6 separate regions of the Homo sapiens genome follow, and all the other regions are linked to region 1. Evidence: promoter capture Hi-C in 16 types of primary human blood cells and fetal thymus (Javierre and others, 2016). All regions are on one chromosome and are shown on one strand. Each heading gives the region's core, a stretch centred on a gene start or on the middle of the fragment in contact. The rest is flanking DNA. Distances are from core to core; before and after follow the strand shown. Region 1 holds the start of HDX (highly divergent homeobox). Region 2 has its middle 230 kb from the start of HDX. Region 3 has its middle 210 kb from the start of HDX. Region 4 overlaps HDX (highly divergent homeobox). Region 5 overlaps HDX (highly divergent homeobox). Region 6 overlaps HDX (highly divergent homeobox).

The links. The method cuts DNA at HindIII sites, captures the fragments that hold promoters and counts their contacts. A CHiCAGO score of 5 or more calls a contact.
Region 2: a fragment that was not itself captured here is called in contact with the fragment with the promoter of HDX in region 1 in 1 of 17 cell types (monocytes); the score reaches 8.0 in monocytes.
Region 3: a contact is called between a fragment that was not itself captured here and the fragment with the promoter of HDX in region 1, in 2 of 17 cell types (monocytes and M0 macrophages). The highest score is 16.4, in monocytes.
Region 4: a fragment that was not itself captured here is called in contact with the fragment with the promoter of HDX in region 1 in 4 of 17 cell types (M0 macrophages, monocytes, M1 macrophages and 1 more); the score reaches 6.7 in M0 macrophages.
Region 5: a contact is called between a fragment that was not itself captured here and the fragment with the promoter of HDX in region 1, in 4 of 17 cell types (monocytes, M2 macrophages, M1 macrophages and 1 more). The highest score is 19.3, in monocytes.
Region 6: a fragment that was not itself captured here is called in contact with the fragment with the promoter of HDX in region 1 in 1 of 17 cell types (monocytes); the score reaches 10.2 in monocytes.

What each region holds. Positions count from the first base shown.
Region 1 is chrX:84,500,101-84,504,239 of GRCh38, reverse strand. HDX (highly divergent homeobox) reads left to right here and starts at 1,787. Exons shown (of 11, transcript NM_001177479.2): 1 at 1,787-1,898. RefSeq lists a silencer at 1,614-1,763. The HindIII fragment of the contact is 2,765 bases long and covers 1,234-3,998 here.
Region 2 is chrX:84,731,275-84,735,413 of GRCh38, reverse strand. It overlaps the pseudogene TEX16P. Among named protein-coding and RNA genes, the nearest start is that of HDX, 230 kb to the right of the region's middle. The HindIII fragment of the contact is 7,467 bases long and covers 1-4,139 here.
Region 3 is chrX:84,714,626-84,718,764 of GRCh38, reverse strand. It overlaps the pseudogene TEX16P. Among named protein-coding and RNA genes, the nearest start is that of HDX, 210 kb to the right of the region's middle. The HindIII fragment of the contact is 4,245 bases long and covers 108-4,139 here.
Region 4 is chrX:84,319,198-84,323,336 of GRCh38, reverse strand. HDX (highly divergent homeobox) reads left to right here. Exons shown (of 11, transcript NM_001177479.2): 11 at 1,323-4,139. The coding sequence ends at 1,448. Among named protein-coding and RNA genes, the nearest start is that of MIR548I4, 95 kb to the right of the region's middle. The HindIII fragment of the contact is 3,302 bases long and covers 641-3,942 here.
Region 5 is chrX:84,338,483-84,342,621 of GRCh38, reverse strand. The region is part of intron 7 of HDX (highly divergent homeobox); the gene reads left to right. Among named protein-coding and RNA genes, the nearest start is that of MIR548I4, 110 kb to the right of the region's middle. The HindIII fragment of the contact is 2,224 bases long and covers 813-3,036 here.
Region 6 is chrX:84,357,648-84,361,786 of GRCh38, reverse strand. It overlaps HDX (highly divergent homeobox), which reads left to right. Exons shown (of 11, transcript NM_001177479.2): 6 at 175-321. Among named protein-coding and RNA genes, the nearest start is that of MIR548I4, 130 kb to the right of the region's middle. The HindIII fragment of the contact is 3,787 bases long and covers 379-4,139 here.

The DNA.
Region 1 (4,139 bases), core at 538-3,037:
CAACTGTCTAACTGGTCTCTCTCACTCCAGCCTATCGCAATGTTACTGAAAATGCAAATTAATGACTTGAAAAATGTGCTTTCAGTCATTCATTCAATACGTACTTACTTATTTGTCTACTTTGTATTTAGAGGCTTTCTAGATTTGAGGGATATAATAATAAACAAAACAGACAAAAATCCCTGCCTTCATAGAGCTTACATTTGCAATAACTAAATATATAAAATACATTTAATAATAATAAATACTATGAAGAAAAATGAAACAGAAAAAAGGGTATAGAGAGTGTTAAGGATATCACAATTTTAAATAGGAAAACCTCTTTAAAGAGGTTGCATTTGAGCAAAGATTTCAATCAAGTGATGGAGTAAGTCATATAAAGATCAGACAGTACAACAGTACAGGGTCACTGCTGTGGACATGAGCTTGACTTGTTTGAGAAATAGAAGATTAATATATTTGTGAATTAGTGGCTGAGTGACAGGAGGTGAGGTCAGAAAGATGGCGGAGGCCAGATCATTTAGGGCTTTGAGGACATGGTAAGAAATCTGCATTTTATTGTATATGTGAAAGGAAACCATTGAACAATCTGAAGTTGAGCATAATCTGGCTTTTGTTTTAAAAAATCACCTAAACTCCTCTGTAGATAATTGACTATAGAGGATTGAGGTCACATGCTTTATGGCTTTTGGTGGCTTTTAATCAAATAAAAGTTATCTGCCTATTTTCAAAGGCTTTTATTATTAGCCAATTCCATCTACCACTAGTCCTCAGCATATGCCCTCTATTTGTCAAGCTGATTTCATCATGGGCTTCCTCACATCATATGAATTTATACGTCTCTACCTTTGCCTATCTTTCCCCTTTAAGACGGTGACTTCCATCTGCTCTTATCCACCATTCAAGAACCATCTCAAGTTTTAATTACATAAAATGCTTCCCTGACTTTTCACCTCACTGATGTCTCCAATAATTAAATAATGTAGCTCTTGTCTGTAGTTAATGACTGAGCACATGATCATGTACTTTATTTTATTGTTGTGAATATTTACTGTGTGCTAATCTTGTCTTCCAAACGATGTTGCAAGTTCTATGATAGCAGAGAATCAATGAATTCTATATCTCTCATGGCATCCAGCAAATCTGGGAAGTATATCAAGTGACTGTTAAATGATGTAACATGTGGCTTGACTTCTTTTCTGGAATGGTATAATGGTGATCACCCAAGAAGCTTCTGCCAGAATAGGAATTGAGGTTGGATGAATAAAAACCATAGTTTCTTTCCTCAGTCATCAGAGCCAACCAGTCACGTATAATAGTACACTTGCTTTTACTGTAAAATTCTAAAGGCTCGATGGACACCTTATTGATTTTAGTAAAACTGAATATTTACCTGTCAATCGAACACTGACCACAAAGGACTGTATTTCCTTATGCTATCATTTGATTTTGGCAGCATGTAACAATTTTGTTAAAACCCAATGTCAAGTTGGAAGGCCAGGCAGCACCTGCTCAAATGGCTGGCATGTAACTACTATAGTCACAGGGATGCTCGGTGTTCACAGCTATTCAGGAAGGTATAGAGAGCCCTGGCCGTAGATGTAGCTGATTTGTGTGAGGAAGAGGCAGTCCAGTTGCAGGCAGCCATCTCTCTTCCCCCCTCCCAACTCTTGGGTTCTGGGCTGAGGCCAGGGACTGTCCTGAGCTGATCGCAGGCTCCCATTGGCCGCTGTCTTTTGTGACGTCACGATCATGATGAGAATTGATGATCGGACACGCTGATTTCATTGTCTGAAGCGGCACTGGAGACCCAGGAAAAATCTCGCTGAATCCGCCTGCCCCAGCAGCGGCCTGATCTGGGTTCCGCTGATTCCTTTCGTAACCGCACCACACCCGAGGTAAGCACTCAACACTAAGTGGGTGAGAAGGGCGAAGGAGGGAGGGCAAAGCACCGGGATAATGCTTTTCCTAGTTTGGGGCGAGGTTGGGGGTGGGGGGGTCCATAGGTTCCGTGGCCTAAACAGGCAGACAAAAAACTGGTGCGGATCCTAGGGAGCCAAGTGCCTCTATCCTCCTAGCGAAGGCTGGCGGCTGAGTGAGATTAGAAACGAGCTGCGGATAGGGATACAATGGGGATTGCCAGAGAGCGAAGGACCTTGCTCGGAGAGAGAGCGATGTTTGGGACGCGCTTCTGGACGGGTAGTAGGAGGAAGTGGCGCCTCTGCCTCCGAAGAAAGGAGGGGATTGAATTCTACCACTTCTAGATTTCACTGGACAGTAGATTTCTCACAGCCCTACTCAAAGGCACTGAGAGCGTAGCGCCTGCGCATTAGCACCTTGGTGGGGGCGGGGTGGGTCACTGTGAGGAGAATAGGCGTGGAGTTTGCACAGGCGCTGTTTCGGTTTCACTGGAAGAGGTGGGGCTGAGCCATTTCTGTGCTGAATTTGGAAAGTAGAGACCCAGGGAACATCCCAGGCCTTGTGATGTTTCAAGCACCAGTTGATGGGGAGAGATCTGCCATTTAGTTTAAACTGGCCTACTGAGTAAATCCAGCTTCAAAATGAGCCTTATAAATTTGAGAAGGCACATTCTAAATTTCCAGATATTAGATGTTGAATAACGGAATGAACTCTAGAAGAATTTGTGAAATAGAAGTTTATCAGATAAGAAACTGTTTGGAAAAATAAACACTAATTATTCAAATGAATCTAACTTTTAATCTTAAAGGAGCTCTGATTTGAGGTGACAATGATTTTGAACCTTAAATTCTTTGGAAAGACTCAGAATGAAGTCCATTGTGGAGGCTCAGAGTAAGAAATTTTCCTTTCTTGCCTTTTTCTCTTCTTGGGACAATCTCTTATAAATATTTAGTCTCCATATCAAGTTTGGTGCTGAGTCCATCTTCTTCCTCTGTGTCTCTGCTAGAATCACTGAAGTCAAATATTATTTTGAGAAGCCCTTTCCCGCACCCCTTCATTGGGAAGGCTGTTATATTACTTATATTAAGGCTTTTATTACTCAGCAGTTGTGGGGAACAATGAAGAACAACCTGCCTGTCTATTATTGATGAATAGATTGTACAGTATTGTTATTAATTGCCCTCCACAGTCTGATCATAGACTCCTGACAATTTTACAGAGGAATCTGGATTTTTCTCTATTTCTCATAGTTAAGGGATTATCAAGTACTGGTAAATTTTCCTTTGAAAGCCTTCTCACACGTTCCTCCTTTACAATCTAAATTCTCATCAGCACCCATGTAGTCACTGTAGGAGCTTCCTAGGCAGTCTTCACCTGTGCCCCAAATCCTTAGTGGTCTGTGAACACTTCTTTCAACAAATCACTTTCTTTAACCAACATATTCTTGGCCCCTTATTTTCTATTGTTTCAAGCCTAATTCCACCCGAATTTTAAAGAACTTCATAATCTGGCCTCATTGTAATGCAGGAGCCTTATTTTCCTTTATTCTTCAGGGCACAACTCTCTTTAATGTTCAGTTAGTGAGAACAATCTACCTTTATATCTTTGCTCCTTATACCATTACTGTCCCCTCCACGTAGGATGTCCTCCTTCTACATAATTCACATCTTACCCACTTTGGAAACTCAACTCAAATTCCACCCCTCCACAAGTGCCTTCCAAATTAATCTAATGCAAGTGTTACTGACCTCACTTTTCCTAGAATTCCCACGTCAATTATTGTCTTTGTTAGTTGCTTGTAGGCTGCTTTGTATTGTCTCCTTTGTTATTGTTGTTGTTGTTGTTGTTGTGTGTGTGTGTGTGTGTGTGTGTGTTAGACTGGAATCCTCAAATGGATTTTAAACCCTTCCTTAAGGGTTGGGACCATGACATCCATTTCTTTATTATCTGCCCATAGCACCTAACTGAATAATCAAAATAGCTGTAGCTATATATGTTCTTTTTTTTTCCCCTAGAAAACAATTTCCTGGGAAATGAAGCAGTATTTTTATAGAGAGAACTGTATACATGTGAAAGCTTATTCATCGTTGGTCAGGCAAGAGACCCTCCAATGACTAAATAAACCTGAATTTAAGTCAGAGGAAAGAAATTACACAGATCTCTATTTACTGGGTGGCCTTCAAATATATCATGTCCTCATAAACAAGATCAAGGGAGGG
Region 2 (4,139 bases), core at 1,059-3,558, 230 kb before region 1:
TCATTTATATAAAAGCTGATGGGGCTGGGTTTCTTATTTGCTTAAGGTGTAAATTCCTGGTGGCTCTACCCCATCCTTCCAGTGCACATGTGGGCCTTTAGCCTGAGTCACTCCATATTGATTTATTTTCTTTACTGCACATGTGTCAAGGGATGGAATTTTCCACTTCTGGCATGTTTAGGTAAGTCTCCTGCATAACTTCCCTTATCTGTGTAACTGTGGACATGTTTAGGCAAGCCCCCTGTGCAAGTTTCCTTATCTGCACAAAACATCTAGTGTAAGCACTTGCGGTATGTGTGGATTAGGCAATGACCTGGGTGGGTCGGAGGTTCTCTCAGGACCCTTCCTTTACCGTCTGCCTAAAGCAAGCTGGCTAACTCCTCTCAATAGCTAAGAGCACAGGGTTTCCTTTCCCCAGAGCTCTCAGTTAGGGGACTTCTTTCTCTGGAGTAGCAGGACATCAGTACTTCTTATCCTGCCCCCAGCTCCATGTTGCTGAGGCTAAGTGTTGGGAGAGTATGGCCAAAAGTTGAGGCTCATTTTCTCTTGCCAGTCCCCACTCATGGAATGGAGGCTCTAAATTGGATATGGTAATGCTTAGAATACTGAGGCCCCAATTACCTTTTCTCCAGCTCATAAGGCAGTGGTCCCATGACAGGAGAAGTGAGTCAAGGAGACCTAAGTCTATCCCCACATTCACTGAGCGCTCAGCTCCTAGAGCAGGAGTATTGCTCAAAGACAAGTGTGTCATTGTCTCCAACCCCAGCTCCAGATCTGTCTCAGAGATTTTGCCTGGTGGAAGAAGCAGGCCATAAAACAGATAGATCCTTTTCTCTTCCCAAATAAACTTACTTTATTTGCAATAGTGAAGTTCAAAACTAAGGATGCTGCTATGGTTTGAATGTGTCCCTTCCAAAATTTATATTAAAACTTAATCCCTAATATAACATTAATAAGAGGTAAGACCTTTAGGAAGTAATTAGGCCATGAAAATTCTCCCCTCATAGATGAGATTAGTGACCTTATACAAGGGCTGGAGGCAACTAGTAAGGCACCATTTTTGTCCTTCTGCCTTCTGCCATGTGAGGACACAGTGCTCATCCTCTCCAGAGGATATATCTTTGTTCTCCTTTCTTATCTCAGATTCTCTAAATGACATAAACTTGTATAAAATAATAATTATAGCAATGTATTAATGGGTTTTTAACATTAAGACAATATATACATATATAAAAAACACTAATACCATAAAGGAGAAAAACATAATACAGTGCTATAGAAGTAACATTTCTATATCTCATTGGAATTAAGTTGCCATAAATCTGAAGATCATTCTGATAAGTTAAAATGTGCATAGTAAGCTGTAGGGCAACTACTAAGGAAATAAAAATAAATTACAAAAAGGTTATGATAAATAATGAAATGTTTCATTAGAAAACATTCACTTAATGCAAAGGAAAGCAGTAAAGAAGAAATAGAGGATGAAAAAAGACATGAAACAAATTGGAAATAAAAAAGTAAAATGGCATACTTAAATCTTACTGTAACAGTAATAACATTAAATGTGGATGGATTAAACAATCCAGTCAAAAGCAGAGATTGTCAGATGGGATAATAAAATAAGAGTCACCTATATGCCACCTAGACAATTCACAGTATAGATTTCAAAATACAAAATGATTGAATGTAAAAGGATGAAAAAATATAAATCATACAAACAGCAGCCACAGAAAGTTTAAGTGACTGTGCTAATATTAAACACAGAGGACTTTAAAACACACACATTTTCTAATGGTAAAACATTGAACCCACCATGGGGATAGTACAATTATAAGTATACATATATTTAATAAGAAAGTACTGAAATACATGAATCAAAACTTGACAGAAATGAACAGAGAGAGTTGGGCATTTTGATACCCCATATTCAATAATGGATATAACAATTAGATGAAAGATCAAAAAATAAATAGAAAACCAGTTAGACTTAAGAGACACCAATAAAACACTCCGCTAAACAACAAATAAATTATTGTTAAATCTACATGGAACATTCTCCAGTATAGTCTATATGACAGAGCATAAGAAACAAATATATTTAAAAAGGTTAAAAATGTAAGCTATGTTCTCCAACTAGAATGGAAAGAAACAAGAAATCAATAGGGGAAGAAAAATGGAAAATCTACAAATATGTGGAAATTAAAAAACACACTCTTAAACAACCAAGAGTCAAAGACAAGTTAAAAGAAAAATTTTCAAATATTTTGAGACAAAAGAAGGTGAAAATACAGCATACAAAAATCTATGGGATGCAGCAAAAATGGTGATCGGAGGAAAATGTATAGTTGTTGATACATTATATAGAAAGAAAGATTTCAAATCAATAACATCACCTTATACCTCAAAGAATTAGGAAAAGAACAAGTTAAATTCAAAGCTAGAAGATGGAAGAAATAATAAAGATTAGGGGAGAGAAAATTGAAGAGAGAATGAAAAAAAAAATAGAGAGGATCTATGAAACCAAAAGTTTCCTCTTTGAAAAGATCAACGAAATTGGCAAGTCTTTAGCTAGACTGACTAGGAAAAGAGAGAAGACTCAAATTACTAAAAATAGAAATGAAAATGGGGCATTACTATAGTGCTTACAGAAATAAAAAGGATTATAGAAAAACATTATGAACACTTGTGCACTAACGAACTAGACAATGTAGATGAAATGAACAAATTGCTAGAAAGAAACTATCAAAACTTGCTCAAGAAGAAATAGAGAATTTGAACAGACCTATAATTGAAGAGGTTGAGTCAGTAATCAAGAACATCCAGGCTGGGTGTGGTGGCTCACACCTGTAATCCCAGCACTTTGGGAGGCTAAGGTGGGTGGATCACTTGAGTCCAGGTGTTGGAGACCAGCCTGGGCAAAATGGAAAAATCTCATCTCTACAAAAAAAATATAAAAAAAATAGCTAGGTGTGGTGGTATACACCTGTAGTCCAAGCTACTTAGGTGGGTGAAGTGAGAGGATTGCTTGAGGCTGGGAGGCAGAGGTTGCAGTGAGCCAAGATCATGACATTGCACTCCAGCCTGGGTGACAGAGTGAGACCCTGTCTCAAAAAAAAAAAAAAAAAAAAGGAGAGCACAGGACCAGATGATTTCAATAGTGAAGTCTAACAAACATTAAAAGAAGAATTAACACCAATTCTTCTCATGAAATATAAGAGAACACTTTCTAATATATACTATGAAGTCAGAATTACTCTGATTCCAAAGCCACATAAAGATATCGCAATAAAAGAATAGACCAGTATCTCTTATGAAAACAGATGCAAAAATCCTCAACACAATACTAGCAAACTTAATTCAGCAACATATTAAGAGGATTATACATCATGACTGGGATTTATCCCCAAAATGCAAGGTTTGTTTAACATGCAAAAATCAATTAATGTAATACACTATATTAATAGAATAAAAAACAAAACCACAAGGTCATATCAATACATGTGGAAAAAAATCTGATGACATTCTACACTCTTTTATGATAAAGACACTTAACAAACTAGAAACAGAACACTCTCTGATAAAAGAAGACTATAAAAACTCACAACATAAATCATGTTTAATGGTGAAATACTGGATGTTTTTCCCCTAAGAAATGAAACAATGATGGCTACTTTCTCATTTCTATTCAACATTGTAATGGAACTTCTAACCAGAGAAATTAGGGAAAGAAAAGAAATAAAAAACATGTAAATTGGAAAGAAAAAAGCAACTTTATTTGCAAATGATATATTATTGTATTCAGAAAATCATAATGAATCTACTAAAAATTATTAGTACTAATATATAATTTTGTCAAAGCTCAAGATACAAGATCAATGTTCAAAAATCAATTGCATTTGTATATGCATGCAATAGAGAATCAAAAAATTATATTAAGAAAACAATTCCATTTAGAATAGCATCAGAAAGAATAAAATGATTTGAGTCAAATTTAACAAGGGAAGTTTAAATTTACTCTAAAAATTTCAAGACATTGTGGAAAGAAATTTTAAAAGATCTAGAATTTTTTTTTTTTTTGGCAGATTAGAGGCTTTTGTTGTTCCTTAGCCACTTGGAAATAGCAAGATAATGTCAGAGGC
Region 3 (4,139 bases), core at 981-3,480, 210 kb before region 1:
TGATCTTAGGCCCAAATTTGTCAAAGCTACTGACATTTTGGAAGTGTCATAATATTTCTAATTAAACTTGTAAATCAAACTGCTTTCAAAGACCACACATGTAAGCTTACCTTGAGGATGATTATCCTTTCTATGAACACCAAGGCATTTTCCTTCATATTCTGAGTCAAGGTGATATCTTTCCCCTGGTTCAGAGTCAAATGCAATTCTGTGTTCATTTTCACTGTCAGACTCCATAAGATGATTTTCCTTCTCTTCATCCATTTGACGTCTCTCATTTGCAAATTGTGTCAGACACTGTTCCCTCTGCATCCTCATCAGGTGTCTTTCACTTTCAAACTCAATGTTGTTGTCTTTAATTTTTTAGAATTTGTGTGTTTTTAGAATTAGAGTCTACATGATGTCTTTCAAAGTTTTCCAAATATTTTAGAGGGCCATCCTGATATCTTCCAGAGCTATTCAAAAGTCTTGCAGACCTATGCTGCTATGTTATAGAACAATCCCAGAATCTACCATAGTCAAAATCTGACTGTATTTTATTAGAGTCCATCTGATATCTTTCAGATTCAGACTTGAGTCTTGTCCAGCATCTTTCCAATTCAGAGGTTCTTTGGCAATTTTCAGACTTTATCATGTGTTTTCCAGAATCAGAGCTCATCCCCAGGCTTTCAGAGTGTGAGTCCATTGTACGTCTTTCAGACCCATAATTCATCCAGAGCCCTTCAGTGTCAGTCCTCAAATGGAATGTATTAGCATTCATGAGAAATTTGAAAGCTGCTAAGCCTAGCCCATATCTTCCTGAATCTAAGTCCATCCCACATGGTTCAGAGCTAAAGTCCATCATATATCTTTTAGATCTAGCCTTCTCCTGGTATTTTTCTTCCTCCATCAGATGTACCCCAGGTAAAGAGGCTGAGACCGTTTCACCCATCTCTGTGTCTGAGTCCATCAGATACCTCTAAGAAGCAGAGACCATCCAGAGTTTTTCAGTCTCAGTCAATATTTTTTCAGAGTCCATCAGGTGTTTTACAGAATCTGAGGCCATTTGGCATTTCTCTGTCTTCAGCAAGTGTTTCACAGATGCAGAGGCCATGGGGCATTTTTCAGAGTCTGAGTCTATCCCCAGTCTTTCATTGTCAGAATACAGATATTTTTCAGAGTCAGAATCTACCAAGCATTTTTACTGAACCAAAGTCCATCCAGTGTTGCAGAGAGTCAGAGTCCACCTGGCACTGTTCAACTCTCATCGGGTTTTCTGCATAGCCTGAAGCTATTTGGTAGTTTTCTGCTTCTAGCAGGTGTTTCACAGTCTGAGTCTCTAGTATGTTTTTCTGAGTCCATTCCCCATATTACCGAGTCAGAGTCTTTCAAGTGTTGTTCTAAGTCAGAGTCCAAACCAATGCCTCTATCAGAGTCAGAATCAATCACATCCTTCAGAGTCAGAGTCCATAAGGGGACTATGACTTTTAATTATTGTCAGATGTTGGAGACTTTTATAGTCCAAAGAACCAGATAAAATTTCAGAACCTTTTGTGTGAGAAACTTCTGTTTCAGATTCATTTCCTTCATCCTGTTGCGTAGTAACAGCTTCTTCATTACTTAAAGAAAAGACAAACATGAATGAATACTTGTTTAAATATTCATCAAATGTTAGCAAACACTTTTTTTTGTTGAAAATCCTATTTTAGGAAAGCATTATATAGTACATATTTTTATATTTCAGGCTGTAGAAAGCAAGATAAAACACTAAACTTCCTGTGAACAAATTGGAAGACTATCAGTGTACACAGATTTTACACTCACTTACATCTTGCCTCACATTAACTGTTTTACAGCACATCTGAAAGTAATTGCCTGACTAGGCTACTTCCTTGCAAATATACCATTTTCTTGTCCTTATCCAATCAATACATCATTATTCTGGAGGCTGAATATCATGTTAAAATGTAGTATAAAATAAAAGTAAACTATGTGTATATTTTACTCCATGATAAGATTTGTAGACTCAATTATCAATGAGGCTTACCTTGGAGTGTTGAGCTTTCCTGGAGAAAAATATTCAAAACTGTCAGGTACTCTTTCATTTTGAAGAGACACAACTTGAAGAGGAAATCTACATTCACTTGATGAACTAGTTGTAGTTATTGAACTAGTTATAGTTATTGGCTGCAAAGCAAAACAAATCATAAAGTTGTAATTTCTCAGTTGCATTTAAAATGAAACACAGTATACTTAGGCACTTAGAGGACAGTATTGCTTTACTAGTAGCACCTGTGCTTAATAGAAAGTCATAGTGAAAACCTTTTCTAAACTAAAATTTCAGAATTAATATTCAAATGTAAGAGGAGGCATAGTAGACACTTATTTGGTACCGATATTTTTCACAGAGTTAGAAAAAAAACTATTCTAACATTCATATGGAATCAAAAAGAGCCTGAATAGCCAAAGCAGTTCTAAGCAAAAAGAACAAAGCCAGAGGCATCACATTACCTGACTTTAAACTACACTATAAGGCTATAGTAACCAAAACAGCATTGTACTGGTACAAAAACAGGTGCATAGACCAATGAAACAGAATAGAAAACTCAGGCAATAAAAGCCACACACCTATAATCATATGACATTTGCAAGTCCCAAAAAAAAAAAAAAAGAAAAGCAATGAGGAAAGGAGTCCCCATTCAATAAATGGTGCTGGGATAACTGGATAGCCATATGCAGAAGATTGGAACTGGACCCCTTCCTTACACCTTATACAAAAGTTAACTCAAGATGGATTAAAGACTTAAATGCAAAACACAAAACAATAAAAACCATGGAAGATAACCTAGGAAATATCTTTCTGGACATAAATACTGGCAAAGATTTCATGACAAAGATGCCAAAAGCAAAAGCAATTGCAACAAAAACAAAAATTGATAAATGAGATCTAATTAAAGAGTTTCTGCACAGCAAAAGAAACTATCAACAGAGTAAACAGACAACTGACAGAATGGGAGAAAATTTTTGCAAAATATGCCTTTGACAAAGGTCTAACATAAAGAATCTATATAGCACTTAAAAAATTAATACGTGTAAAACAAACAATCCCATTAAAAAGTGGACAAAGGATACGAACAGACACGTTTCAAAAGAAGACATACATGCAGCCAACAAGCATATAAAAAAATGCTCAACATCACTAATCGTTAGAGAAGTGCAAATCAAAACCACAATGAGATACCATCTCACATTAGGGAAGTGAAAATCAAAACCACAATGAGATACCATTGGCTCTTATTACAAAATGGTTATTATTACAAAAAGTAACAGATACTGGCAAGGTTGCAGAGAAAAGAGAATGCTTATGCACTGGGGGTGGGAATGTAAATTAGTTCAGCCATTGTGAAAAGCAGTGTGGCAATTCCTCAAAAAACTTAAAATAATTACCATTCAACCCAGCAATCCCATTATTGGGTATATATTCAAGGGAACATAAATTGTTCTACTATAAAGACCTATGCATGTGTATGTTTATTTTAGCACTATTCACAATAGCAAAGATGTGGTATCAACTTAAATGTCCATCAGAAGTAGAGTAGATAAAGAAAATGTGGTATATGTACATTATGAAAAACTACACAGTCAAAAAAGAATGAGATTATGTCCTTTGAAGCAACATGGATGAAGCTGGAGGCCATCATGCTTAGCAAACTAACAGGAACAGAAAACCAAATACCACATGTTCTCACTTATATGTGGGAGCTTAACAATAGGAACACGTGGACACAAAGAGAACAACAGACATTGAGGCCTATTTGAGGGTGAAGGGTGGGAGGAGGGAGAGAATCAAAAAACTACCTATCTGGTACTATGCTTATTACTTGGGTGAGGAAGTCTTCTGTACAGCAAACCCTCATGACATGCAGTTTACCTATATAACAAACCTACATATGTACCCTTGAACCTAAAAAAAAATTATAAAGTGTACATACTAAGAAGGTATCTGACTACTATTCCAAAATCATAGAAATAGCTATTCAATCATGACTTCTCTATCACTAGTTTTCATTATTTTAGAAGTCAAGACAAAAAGTAAGGGACAAGGAAAAACGCAAGCAAATTTTATTTAACTGGACACAATTTATGCTTAATCAAATAAT
Region 4 (4,139 bases), core at 1,042-3,541, 180 kb after region 1:
GTGGTAAAACACTTTTCTAGGAGAAAATGGCTCCGTGTCCTATTACTGCAATCTAGCCACTTAGAAAGCAGGCATTACCTTTAAGTTAGTTTACTGTGTATATACTCTCAGTTCCAGCAATAAATTAATGAGAAATTCAATTTTATAAAATAAATAATAACAGCTAGTCTGCCAGATAGGGGTTAGTCTTCCCTTACATAGCCTGATAAAAATGAGAATGTTTTGATCTTGCCCCTGTGCTACAAGGCAGGAAGTATAGGATTTGCAGCTGCCACTTATTTTAATAAAGAGAATGAGTGCATACTGTCTTATTTCAACAGTGGATTTCATATATTCTCCAACATGCCCTTTCTGTTCCTTAATTGGCTAGTGACAAGCTTTCATTTCTTCCTGTTCCCTTGGTCTTTATTTACCACTGCACCCAAAGCCCACATTACAAGTAATACTGTCTAAAAATTGCCAGATATGCTACATTATTCTTAGTATTGGAAGCAGCAAATCAATCATTAAGTTCAAAGTTCCTCATGGTCAAGTGAACATTAGCATTGTCAGCTGCGTAAAACTTGATTAATCATTTATTTCTTTAGAATGGGTGCATGTTCTACAACTTCAGATAAAACAATTAGACCATGACAAAGCTTATTTCATCATTATTGGATTATCCTTATTACTCAAGCAGAGAAATGAGTAGCCCTCCAGATACATCATTACTACAGATAGATCCACTGATTCAGCTGTGCCCTGGTGGGTGCTTGGCCATCTGTAGGTATGAACATAGCCTTAGGAAAGAAAAAATAAAATTACTTGGTCTTTTCAAGTTGTTAAAATTTAGTCTAAAGTAAAATAGCTGGAGGTTTTTCCTAACTACTAAGTTCTTTCTCCCACTGAAGAACAAAATAGTCTTTTGTTAAATGCAGTCTTCTACAAAGGACAGCATAACTGGCATGAATATTTTAACAAAGAACGCAATTTTAAATCCCTTAAACAGTGATCAATGCACACTCAAAACTAGTATGAAAATCACTAACCTCAAACACTTCAAAGCACTTGGTTCAGAAGAGTTGCTCATTTCCCTCCTAATATCCCCTTTGTACAGGTTCTACTCTACAGAATTCACACTTTCAACATCTAGAATTTTGTTACCTTCTGAATAATGTATGAAGAATTTTTCTTTTAGGTAAGGCATTGTCTAAGATCCTGAAATATAAATTATTCTTTAAATCCATAAGGATAATTCACCATGGGAGGACTACAACTATTAATATAAATTGGAAAACAATCTATCCACATACTAATCCAAAAATATTATTTTTTTTATTCAGGCACTGCTGTCAGATTTACCTCCTGAATTAGAGGAAATGGATTTCAATCATGCCTCACTGGAGCCTGATGATACCTCATTCAGTGTATCTTCTTTGTCAGAGAAAAATGTCTCAGAAAGTTTGTGATTTCAGTTGGAGGGAATATATGATACAGTCTTTTGGCTTCGTAACAGGTGTGCATTTCAAGATAACTGCATTCTGTTGCCCTGGTATTCTTTAGTTGGGAAAACACATTGTTGAAACGGACGTATTCTGTGAAGAATGTACAAGATATAATGGCTACAGTGCAACAAAAATGTAGGTGAAATTTAAAAGCATTGTTTGAGAGAGTATTTTTTTAACTGATGGAACTCTGGAAAAAAATTATATTTAAGTTTCAGCAGTTTAACCCTGAAATTCATTATGTCTAATTTCTAACCAGAGACAAAATAACTAAAGACATTTCAGCATTGCTTATCAAGTTGCTACAGCTTGATTAGTCTTGTTTTTGTAGCCATTACATCTTCTTTCTTCTTCTCTCCTTTTCCTATCATCCACTTACACTTTTTCTCAGGAAAGTGGACTGAACATTTAAAACAAAACTTTAAAAAATTATTTAACTCATTATTTAATGAGTTCTCTGATTTAGTTTTTAACCCCTATGAAAATTTGACTTAAACTAATGACTGAAAATTAAATGATTACAGGTATGTAATTGTAAATTGCTGGTGTTCTTCTATTATCTAACCCAAATATTTGTGTGGGGGTGGGGAAGCACAATGGAAAGGTAATTTAACCAACATAACGTCAAATAAATTACGAAGTGTACAGAAACAAAATGTTGTCAAAATTAGTCTTGATGGGGATTCTTCATTACTACAAATGACAAGTATTGATACGATTGACATTCCAGTAGTAAATTTGTATACCTGGGTTAGATGAAGTGTTACACAAATATTTTAAATTTATCACCATCTTTATAATTCTTTTTTAGTTCTTACATGTTATGAAACAGGAAGTCAAGGTAAGCTGCTGAGATTTTTTAAAAATTTAGTCATTCAGCTTTGCCACAAAATTTACCTCATTTCCATATGAGGCCTGTACAGAGCCATCAGCCAAGGATAGTATTCAAAAAGAGTTATACTACTTTGGTTGTAAATCACAGTCTTCTGAATTCCATGAATACTATTCTATGAGTACACACCTAAAATGGGCAAGCTACCCAGTTTTCTATTATTAGTAGGTACCAGATGGCAACACACTGTAGACTGTTCTTTGTAGTTCTTCCTTTCTGGAGTACCAGATGGTATTACCAAGACCCATAGAAGAAAAAATGTCAGTTTCTCCCTAAGCCCACAGTGTCATATATTTGTGACTTGGCAGTGTGCAATTGTGTTGCATGGTTAAATTACTATCTATACCTAAAAGATTAATGAAGTAGCTGGATGGCTGTTTCAGCCATCAAGTTTCTGTTTCCAATTTGTTTTTAATTTTTGTTGGTACCTAGTAGGTATTCAGATATTTTTAAAAATTTGTAATTAGAGCCAAATTTGATCTTGAAATTTACTAGTACTAACTTATGAACACAGAAAGGCAGTCATAAATGTCTTTACCCTTGAAGTGTCCCATCCTCCCACACACACAAATAGGTAAGCTCCCACTGATAGTCTTTCATTTTGTCACTTATTTGTTTATATTGCTGCCATACTACTGATATGGTCCCTTTGTTAGTAGGAATATTTCAGTGTTCAGATATGCTTCCTTGAGCCATATGGAGTTTTGCAAACAATAGTTAGTTTTTCTTGCTGACAAGTCAAATTCCATTCAGAGAAAGCAGCAGAGAGTAACAGAGCCTCAGATATTACGATTAAATGTACCAGTCACACCAACTCCTCCATGAGATGAAGAGTCGCCCCCATATACAACGAAGTTAGAAACCACTTATTAAGTAGCATGAACAAATTCCAGGCCTTCAAGTCTCTCCTAGGGTCTGCTTCATAGTCATTGAGTTTATCTTTCAAATATAATTACTTCTGCTTCAATTTAAGCCCCTTCTTATTTGGTTCTCATTGCAAATTAACTATAGGTATATTCTCTCCTACAGCTTTTAACACTATAGATTTTATTTGTCACGCATCAGCCATTAGTCACTAAATCGAAAAATACTTGTTGAGCTCCTGCTATAGAGAAGACACTGTGCTGGACATTGGATTTCTCAGCAAGCTGTAAACATCACAAATAATTATTTCTTTTTAACATCTTCTATGATATTAATAAACCATATTTAAGTAGAATTTTTAATAGATTTAAGGTTCTGCTAGGTGTGATTCTTAGAAGGATTCCTAGTCCACAATTTTGAGAGAAAGCATAGATGATCTTTTTGTCTCTGTTTAACATTTCATCAAAATAGAAACTATATAAATCATAACAATACATTTAGAACTCCTTTTGTCTTGAAATTTGTGTTTCAGCACCAGAATATTTTTCTTCACCATCATTGGAATTAAAACACTTCTAAAATGAAATGTGGCTATTCTGTAGCAGGAACTGAAGGAAATACCTCTATCTATAGAAAAAGAATCATAATTGCCAGATTGAAATTATTCATGGTAGACTTTGAAAAAGATGTCAAGGTCAAGCTTTGAAAAGTTGTTATGAAGAAAGTATATTTTTTACATATGTAGATAGGAGTTGGTTTTGAGATATGTTAGAGCAGGAAAAATTATCAGCTTATAATTACTCTTGTGGACATCTTCATGGCTGGGGATAAAAATTAACTAACTAGTGTTTCTTTCTTTAGGGCTTTGAGATTATTAAAACAGACCTTACTATCTGAAG
Region 5 (4,139 bases), core at 675-3,174, 160 kb after region 1:
CATTTGTTGAATAACTCATCTTTTACCAGTGAGTTGGAATGTAGCTTTTTATTAAATACACACACACACTCTCTCTCTCTCTCACACACACACACACACACATGCACACACATATACACACATGCAGACGTACACATATACACATGTGGGTCAAATCTGAGACTGCTTATTGTTACACTGATTTGACAGTTTACAACTTTGGCTTTATAAAATGTCTTAATAGCTGGTAGGGCCCTCATTCTTCTTTGCTTTGTAGTATATTGATTCTTGAATTGTTTAGTCATACAATTTGAACTGTTTAAGCATACCTTTTCCAAATCTCCTTCCCCAACATCCATTCAAGATTTTTCTTGGCATTGTATTAAATTTATAGAATACTGTAGGAAGATGAATTCAGCTTTGCACGTATTGAATTTTAGATAGTGGTTGGACATCCATGTAGAGCTGTCCAAGCAGGCCTTTGGATGATATGAGTCTGAAACTCAGATGAGTGCTTAAGACATAAAAAGAAATATGGAAGTCACCCACATTGAGGCAAAAAATATCTAGCCATGAAGATTGAAGATTTAGTTAAGTGAGAAAATGAAAAACAAGAAAGGACAATGGACAAAGACTGTGTATTGATAAATATCCAGATTTGGGCATTGGAGGAGAAAAGGGAGCCCTTGAAAGAACATTCAGAAACAGAAGAAGCAGGACAGTATGCTTTTCCTAAAATCAAGGAAAGAGTCGGGTGCAGTGGCATGCCTGTAGTCTCAGCTACTTGGAAAGCTGAGGCGAAAAGGATCCCTTGAAGTTGGGAGTTTGAAGCTTCAGTGTGTTCTGATTGCACCTGTGAATAGCCACTGTACTCCAGCCTCAGCAACGTAGTGACTTCTGTCTCTAAAATTAAGAAAAAAAAAAAAACAAATAAGGAGATTTCAGAAGGAAGAGGCGTCATTATTTCAGTAGTCTCGTGGTCTCATAGAAGTTAAGTAGAAAAAGGGATGAGAAAGCCATTGAATTTGGTGTTTTAGAAATTCTTTAAAAAAGCAATTAACTGCATGGGGAGAGGAGAGGCAAGCAGATTGCAGTAGGTTGAGTAATGAAAGGGAAAGCAAAGCTACTAGTATTAAGAGGGCCATGCATGTTAAGATCAGGTATTTGAAATGTTATCTATGTGAATATTCAAGTTTCTCTCTCTCTCTCTTTCTTAACATTTGTTATTCATATTGAAGATGATAACAGAGAATTAAGTGTACAGGGAAATAGTGAGGCAGATTTTAAAATTATCAAGAAAAAAAGAAATATTGCACCATTTCCAAGCCCTTTATTTCTAATATAGTTGGTCCTTTAAACCATTTCTGTCATTGGTTAGTGTTTACTAAATTGCATATGCCTGGAGATACTTGGATATTCCCAGTGACTCATGACTGGTGTTTTAGAGCCTGCTGAGTGGTGACTAGCTGAAGGAGAGTGGGGAAGTAGGGATTTGTGTGTTTCTGTGGTTGAGTGGGTGAGCTGAGAGAAAATATTCAGAGAAAGTACAGAAGACCCTAAGTGAAGTTTCGTTTCCCAACTCCCACTTCTCCACCTAAAAGATAATTTTAGAAAATAAGTAGTTGAAGGAAAAAAAGTGAAAGTTAATTTTAAAGACCACTTAATGGTCCACTCTTAATGGACCACTGCTCCTACACTGACATTCTTTGTCATGGTGTGTTCTTTAAATAGCTGGCATAGTAATCAAGACACAATGAGAAAAAGAAGAAAGAGAATTTAATGCATGAATCAAAAAACACTTGATCAGAAGTGTGATTGCCTAGAATTTTTTATCGGTGGCTTATCTTTCCACAGCTGCATGGTAACCTTTTCATTCTCACAGAAATTGCAACAGAAAAGCATAAAATCATTTTCAAATACTGAAAACAGCCCTTTTTGGTACAGTTTCCTACTAGTTATGTCCTATTCTCTTCCTCATTTTGCTAGTGGAGAATACTAATACGATTCGTTTGATTAAGTGAATCATATCATCTGGCCTAAATTAATATCATGCCTTTAAAATATGCTAACCATTTTCCTTCCAGTTTATGAAAATGTATTTAAATATATTTCTACTTTGAAATTTCCATTAATTACATCTAAGAAATATAAAGAAAAAATAATCTTTAGATTATTCTAAAATTAGCTGCCCATAGTATTTCAAAAACCTAACAACTGAAATTCAGACTGCTTATAATAGGGCTACTGATTCAGTAGCATTATCTAAGAAGGGAAAGATATCTTTAAGTTAGGGTTACATATTACATATTAAAAATCAATTGAAAATCACATTAAAATATTCTAGAAAAATCTGTATAAGCAAAAATTAAGATTTTTTTAAAATTCAGTAAAAGGCAGCTTTAGTAAGAGTCAAAAAAAGTGCTGCTGGTCTTTTAGCAGTTTCAGTTCCACTCATTTGTTTCTGAGAGGGTAGATACTTCCCTAATACAGAACTTCTGACTTACCTCTAACTTCCACCTTCCACCTCCCACCTTCCCTTTCCCATTTCCTTTCCCTTTCCCTGTGTGGTGATGAAGAGAAAAGAAGTGTGGTTAGGAAAGATAAAAAACAAAAACAAAAACAAATAAACCTACCTGAGCTCACCCCTCCCACAACTGCAAACTGTAGCAAAAGTAATAGCTAGATGGCTGAGCTCCTTAATTTCTGTATCTACAATTAATATACAGTGAAAAATAAATTTATGTTTGAACAACTTTAAAGATTTTTACTATCCTGAGAACCAAAATTTTTAAAGATGAGAACAATTAACATCTATGTCATTAAATTTTACATCACAGCCTCTTTTTTCAGCTGTATCTATTATATGGGTATGCACGTGAAAGATAATTATACAGTTACTTAGTGGGAGTACATACAGCCACCACATAGGGCGCCCTCTAGAGTTTTTACTGGGTAATTATTCCACTTTATTATCCAATTAGCAGAGCTGCTTTTCTTGGGGAATTACCAGGCACGTAGATAGTGTTTAGATTTCAAACATTCACAAATATTGAAGCTTCTGTAAGCGAAAGAAAACATTCCTTATTCAACTGTATCACTTCACATCCTTTTATTTTAGAAATCCTCAATATAGTTTTAATTTTAATCTTCCAAAATAATCAAACCATGTACAAAATATGTTGCCAGTAAAGGAGAACTGTGTACAAAGTTATGAGAAAAGGAGAATAGGAATATAAGGCAAACCTTTAAAGAATGTTACCTTGTTGATAAGCAATATAAACTCTCTTCTGAGGCCACTAGTGCTAATACTGGCTGATGACACTTTTTCCCTTCCTTCATTACATTTTGTTGCTGATTACATAGGAATTGAAATGTCTGTGATTTGAAATGTCTAAATAATGAGTAGGTAAAGGCTCCTCTGTCTATGAACCGTTCTTTAAAAAAATTAAATTGACCTGTTTTTAAGATTCCACATATAAGTGAGATCATGCAATATTTTCCTTTCTGTGTTCAGTTATTTCACTCAGCATAATGTCCTGCAGGTCTGCTTCAGTTTGTTCCAGCACTGCTATAAGGAAATACCTGAGACTGGGTAATTTATAAAGAAAAGAGATTTAATTGGCTCACAGTTCTGCAGGCTGTAAAGGAAGCATGTTGCTGGCTTCTTCTCAGGGAGGCCTCAGGAATTTACAATAATGGCAGAAGGTGAAAGGGAAGCAGGCAGGTCTTACATGGCTGGAACAGGAAGAAGAGGGATGGGGTGCTACACACTTTCAACACCAGATCTCTTGAGAACTCACTCACTCTTACAAGAACAGCATCAAAAGGGAAATCTACCCCCATGATCCAATCACCTCCCACCAGGCTCCAACTGCAACATTGGGGATTGCAATTTGACATGAGTTTTGGGAGGGGACACAGACATAAACCATATCAGGGTCTATCCATGTTGTGGCAAATGGCAGGGGAGAAAAACAGTCAAATATAAACAGATAGAGAAAAAAAAGAGGTTACCAGGATCAGAGTAGGAGGGAGAGGAAATAGGGAAATGCAGGTCAAATGATAAAAAGTAGCAAATATGTAGTATGAACAAGTCAAAAGATCTAATATGCAACATGAGGATTACTATTAATAAGTGTACTCTATTCAGGATTTTTGCT
Region 6 (4,139 bases), core at 1,023-3,522, 140 kb after region 1:
AAATTTAAAAAATAAAAATGCTTATTTTCAGAACGGGAGGACTGAATAAGAATTGTGAAATAAATTTTGCTAGTATCGTAGCACATCTCACCCTGATGCTTCTCTTTATAATATTATTTCCTTTGATTATTCTAAACTTTAAAATTCAAAACAATTTAAAAATGTGTTTTTCAGCTACAGGACCGCACTCAGTTCAGTGACCGAGACTTAGCCACCCTTAAGAAGTATTGGGACAATGGCATGACCAGCCTGGGCTCTGTTTGTAGAGAGAAAATTGAAGCTGTGGCAACTGAATTAAATGTTGACTGTGAAATAGTTCGGGTAAGACATTTTCTATAATTTTCATGCTATAGTTGCTGAATGGCATAAATGAAAGCTTTAAAATCTTACATGAGGTGCTCCAAGCAATGCTAGCAATAAAGTGAAAAGATAACCCACAGGATAGGAGATATTTTGAAATCATATATCTGATAAGGAATATGTATCAAAGGATGTAAAGAACACTTACAAGTCAATAATAAAATTGCAAATAACCCAATTTTAAAAATAGGCAAAGGAAATGAATAGATATTTGTTTTAAAAAGATATACATATTGCCAATATTTACCTGAAATTATGTTCAACATCATTAGTCATTATGGAAATGAAAATAAAAACCACAAGTTGCCATTTATCCACTGTAACAATATTAACATAAAAGGTATATAATAATGAGTTTTGGCCAGGATATGGAGAAATTGTAGCCCTGATACGTTGCTGGTAAGAATGTAAAATATTTTAGCAACTTTGACAACAGTCCTCAAAAAGTTTAACACAGAGTTATCATATGACCAAAAATTCCACTGCTGGAATGGATTTCAATCTACTCAAAAGAATAAAAAATGTATATCCAACTCAAAAAGTTGCACACTGATATTCATAACAGAGTTTTCCATAATATCCAAATGGAAACAACCCAAACATCCACCAAGTGAATGTATAGACAACATCTGGATATATGCATATAATGGACTATTATAGAGCCATATAAAGGAATGAAATATTCATATGTGCTATAAAACGGATGAACCTTAAAAACATTATGCTAAATGAAAGAAACCCATTGCAAAAGACCACATATTATATTATTTCATTTATATGAAGTGTCCTCATTAGGCACACTCTAGAGACAGAAAATAGGTTAGTGGTGCCAAGAGCTGAGGGAGGGGAGGGATGGGACCTGACTGTTAATATGCATGGGATTTATTTTTGGCATGATGAAAATGTTCTAGATTAGTTAGTGGTGACTGGTGCACAGCACTGTGAATATGTTGAAAACATTTTAATTGTACATATTAAATAAATGAATTGTGTGGTGTTTTAAATATATCTCAATAACATTGTTTAAAAATTACATGAGGTGAATTGAAATATATCTCATATAATGAATGATAGATAAAAATTTATTTTACATTCCCACCTACAGTGTAAAAGTGTTCCTATTTCTCCACAGCCTTGCCAGCATCTGTTGTTTCTTGACTTTTTAATAATTGCCATTCTGATTGGCGTGAGATGGTATTTCATTGTGGTTTTAATTTGCATTTCTCTAAAGATTAGTGATGTTGAGCTTTTTCTCATGTTTGTTGGCTGCATAAATTTCTTCTTTTGAGAACTCTCTGTTCATGTCCTTTGCCCACTTTTTAATGGGGTTGTTTGTTTTTTACTTGTAAAATTGTTTAAGTTCCTCGTAGACTGTGTATATTAGACCTTAGTCAGATGGGTATATTGTAAAAAATTTCTCTTTCTGTAAGTTTTCTATTCACTCTGATTATAGTTTCTTTTGCTGTGCAGAAACTCTTTTGTTTAATTAGATCCCATTTGTCAATTTTTGCTTTTGTTGCAATTACTTTTGATGTTTTTGTCATAAAATCTTTTGCCCATGCCTATGTCCTGAATGGTATTGCCTTGATTTTCTTCTAAGGTTTTTATAGTTTTGGGTTTTACATTTAAGTCTTTAATCCAACCATTGTGAAAAACAGTGTGGTGATTCCTCAAAGACTTAAAACCGGAAATACCGTTTGACCCAGCAATCCCATTACTGGGCATGTACCCAAAGGATTATAAATCATCCTATTATAAAGATACATGCACACGTATGTTCATTGCAGCAGTATTCACAATAGCAAGGACATGGAAGCAACCCACATGTCCATCAGTGATAGACTGGATAAAGAAAATGTGATACATATACAACATGGAATACTATGCAGCTATAAAAAGGAATGAGATCATGTCCTTTGCAGGGCCATGGATGAAGTTGGAAGCCATTATCCTCAGCAAACTAACATAGGAACAGAAAACCAAACCCCACATGTTCTCACTTATAAGTAGGAGCTGAACAATGAGAACACATGGACACAAGGAGGGGAACAACACACACTGGGGCCTGTTGGGGGGTGGGGGAAGGGAGAGCAACAGGAAAAAAGCTAATGTATACAAGGCTTAATATCTAGTTCATGGGTTGATAAGTGCAGCAAACCCCTTCCACGGCACACATTTACCTTTGTAACAAACCTGCAGGTCCTGCACATGTATCCTAGAACTTAAAATAAAATAAAATAAAATAAAATTTTAAAAATTATACTGATCAATCATTGGAACAGTAGTTTATGTTCCATTTAAAAGATAAAATTTTGAAAGTGGTAGTGCTGGTAAGTACTTAGCAATCAATTCTTTAAGGAAAAAAAAAGCCTTAATTAATAGTATTTGCTGATTTCCGTGGTGTAAAGATTCCTACCACAGCTGATTCCATGTCTCACTCAACACAGAGTTGGGAAGAGATGCTAACAGTTGACGCTTGTGAGCAAGTGTAGGTTGACACCAGTACACACACTGGAGGATCATCTCAGTAGATCAAGAGGGAAGTATATTAAAGAAGTGACAAAGAGCCAGGCTTGGTAGTACATACCTGTAGTCCCAGCCACTCAGAAGGCTGAGGTGGAAGGATCACTTGAGCCCAAGAGTTCAAGTGCAGCCAGGACAACCTAATGAGACTCCAGCTCTTATCTCATATATATATGAAGAAAAGAGCAATATAGAGAGAATTTTTGAGTAGAGATTTCTGAAAATAAATACTATTCTCAAAATAAGTACTGCCCTGTTCAGAGTCTTGCTTTTTCTTGTTAGAATCCAGATGGAAAATCAAATTCAATACTGTGTTTGTTGAGCATGCTGCTATGTGTTAAAGTATACTAACAAGGAGAGAGAAGTGCATTAGACATTATTTCTATTTTAAGGAGCTCAGAGTCTAGCAAGAGGGATGACACAAGAAAAAAAATGACTGAAGAGGAATTGGAGTAGAGTCATAGTATGAGGAGCTTAAGCAACAGCCAAAAATAGGGAAATGTAGAGCATGTGTTCTTGTTGTCATTGTCATTTTTATTTTTTTTAAATCAAAGTTATATACGTATATAGCTTAGGAAGTCAAGTTCTGTAGAATTTGCTACAACACCAACATTCCTCACTCCTTCCTTCCTACCATTTTGCAATAGCCCGAGTTGAACCACTTTCCACTTTTAGTTATTTCCTTCAGTATTTACTTTCATCTATGAATGATGTGTTGTATTAATTAGAATTAGGTTTAGCTGTAAGTATTAAAAAGACCCAAAAGTAACAATGGCTTAGACAAGATATTTCAATTCCATGTATAAGTCCATGTATATGCAATTTACAGCTAGCATGGCAGTTTGGCTCTACAATATCCACAAAAACCCTGATGCCTTCCAGTTTCCATTCCGCTGTCCCTGTGATGTGGCCCTTTTTATCAAGGCCCAAAATGATAGCATACATACTCAAGGCAGCATGACAGAGAGGGAGAAGAATAAGGGGCAAAGGCTGTTCACCAGCTGTCTTTTAACAAGGATTTCTGGAAACTGCCATGAGATCTGTTCACTTATATCCCATTGGCTAAAGATTAGTCACATGGTCATACCAAACTACAAGAGAAGCTGCAAATGTAATTTTACTGTGAGCAACCATGTGCCCAGCTAAATCTTCTATTATTCTGGAAGGTGAGGACAAATATGGGGAATAGACAGCAGTCTCTCTTATATGTTTACATTGCAACTTCCTGATTTGTTCAATGTTGGGCATAGTCTATT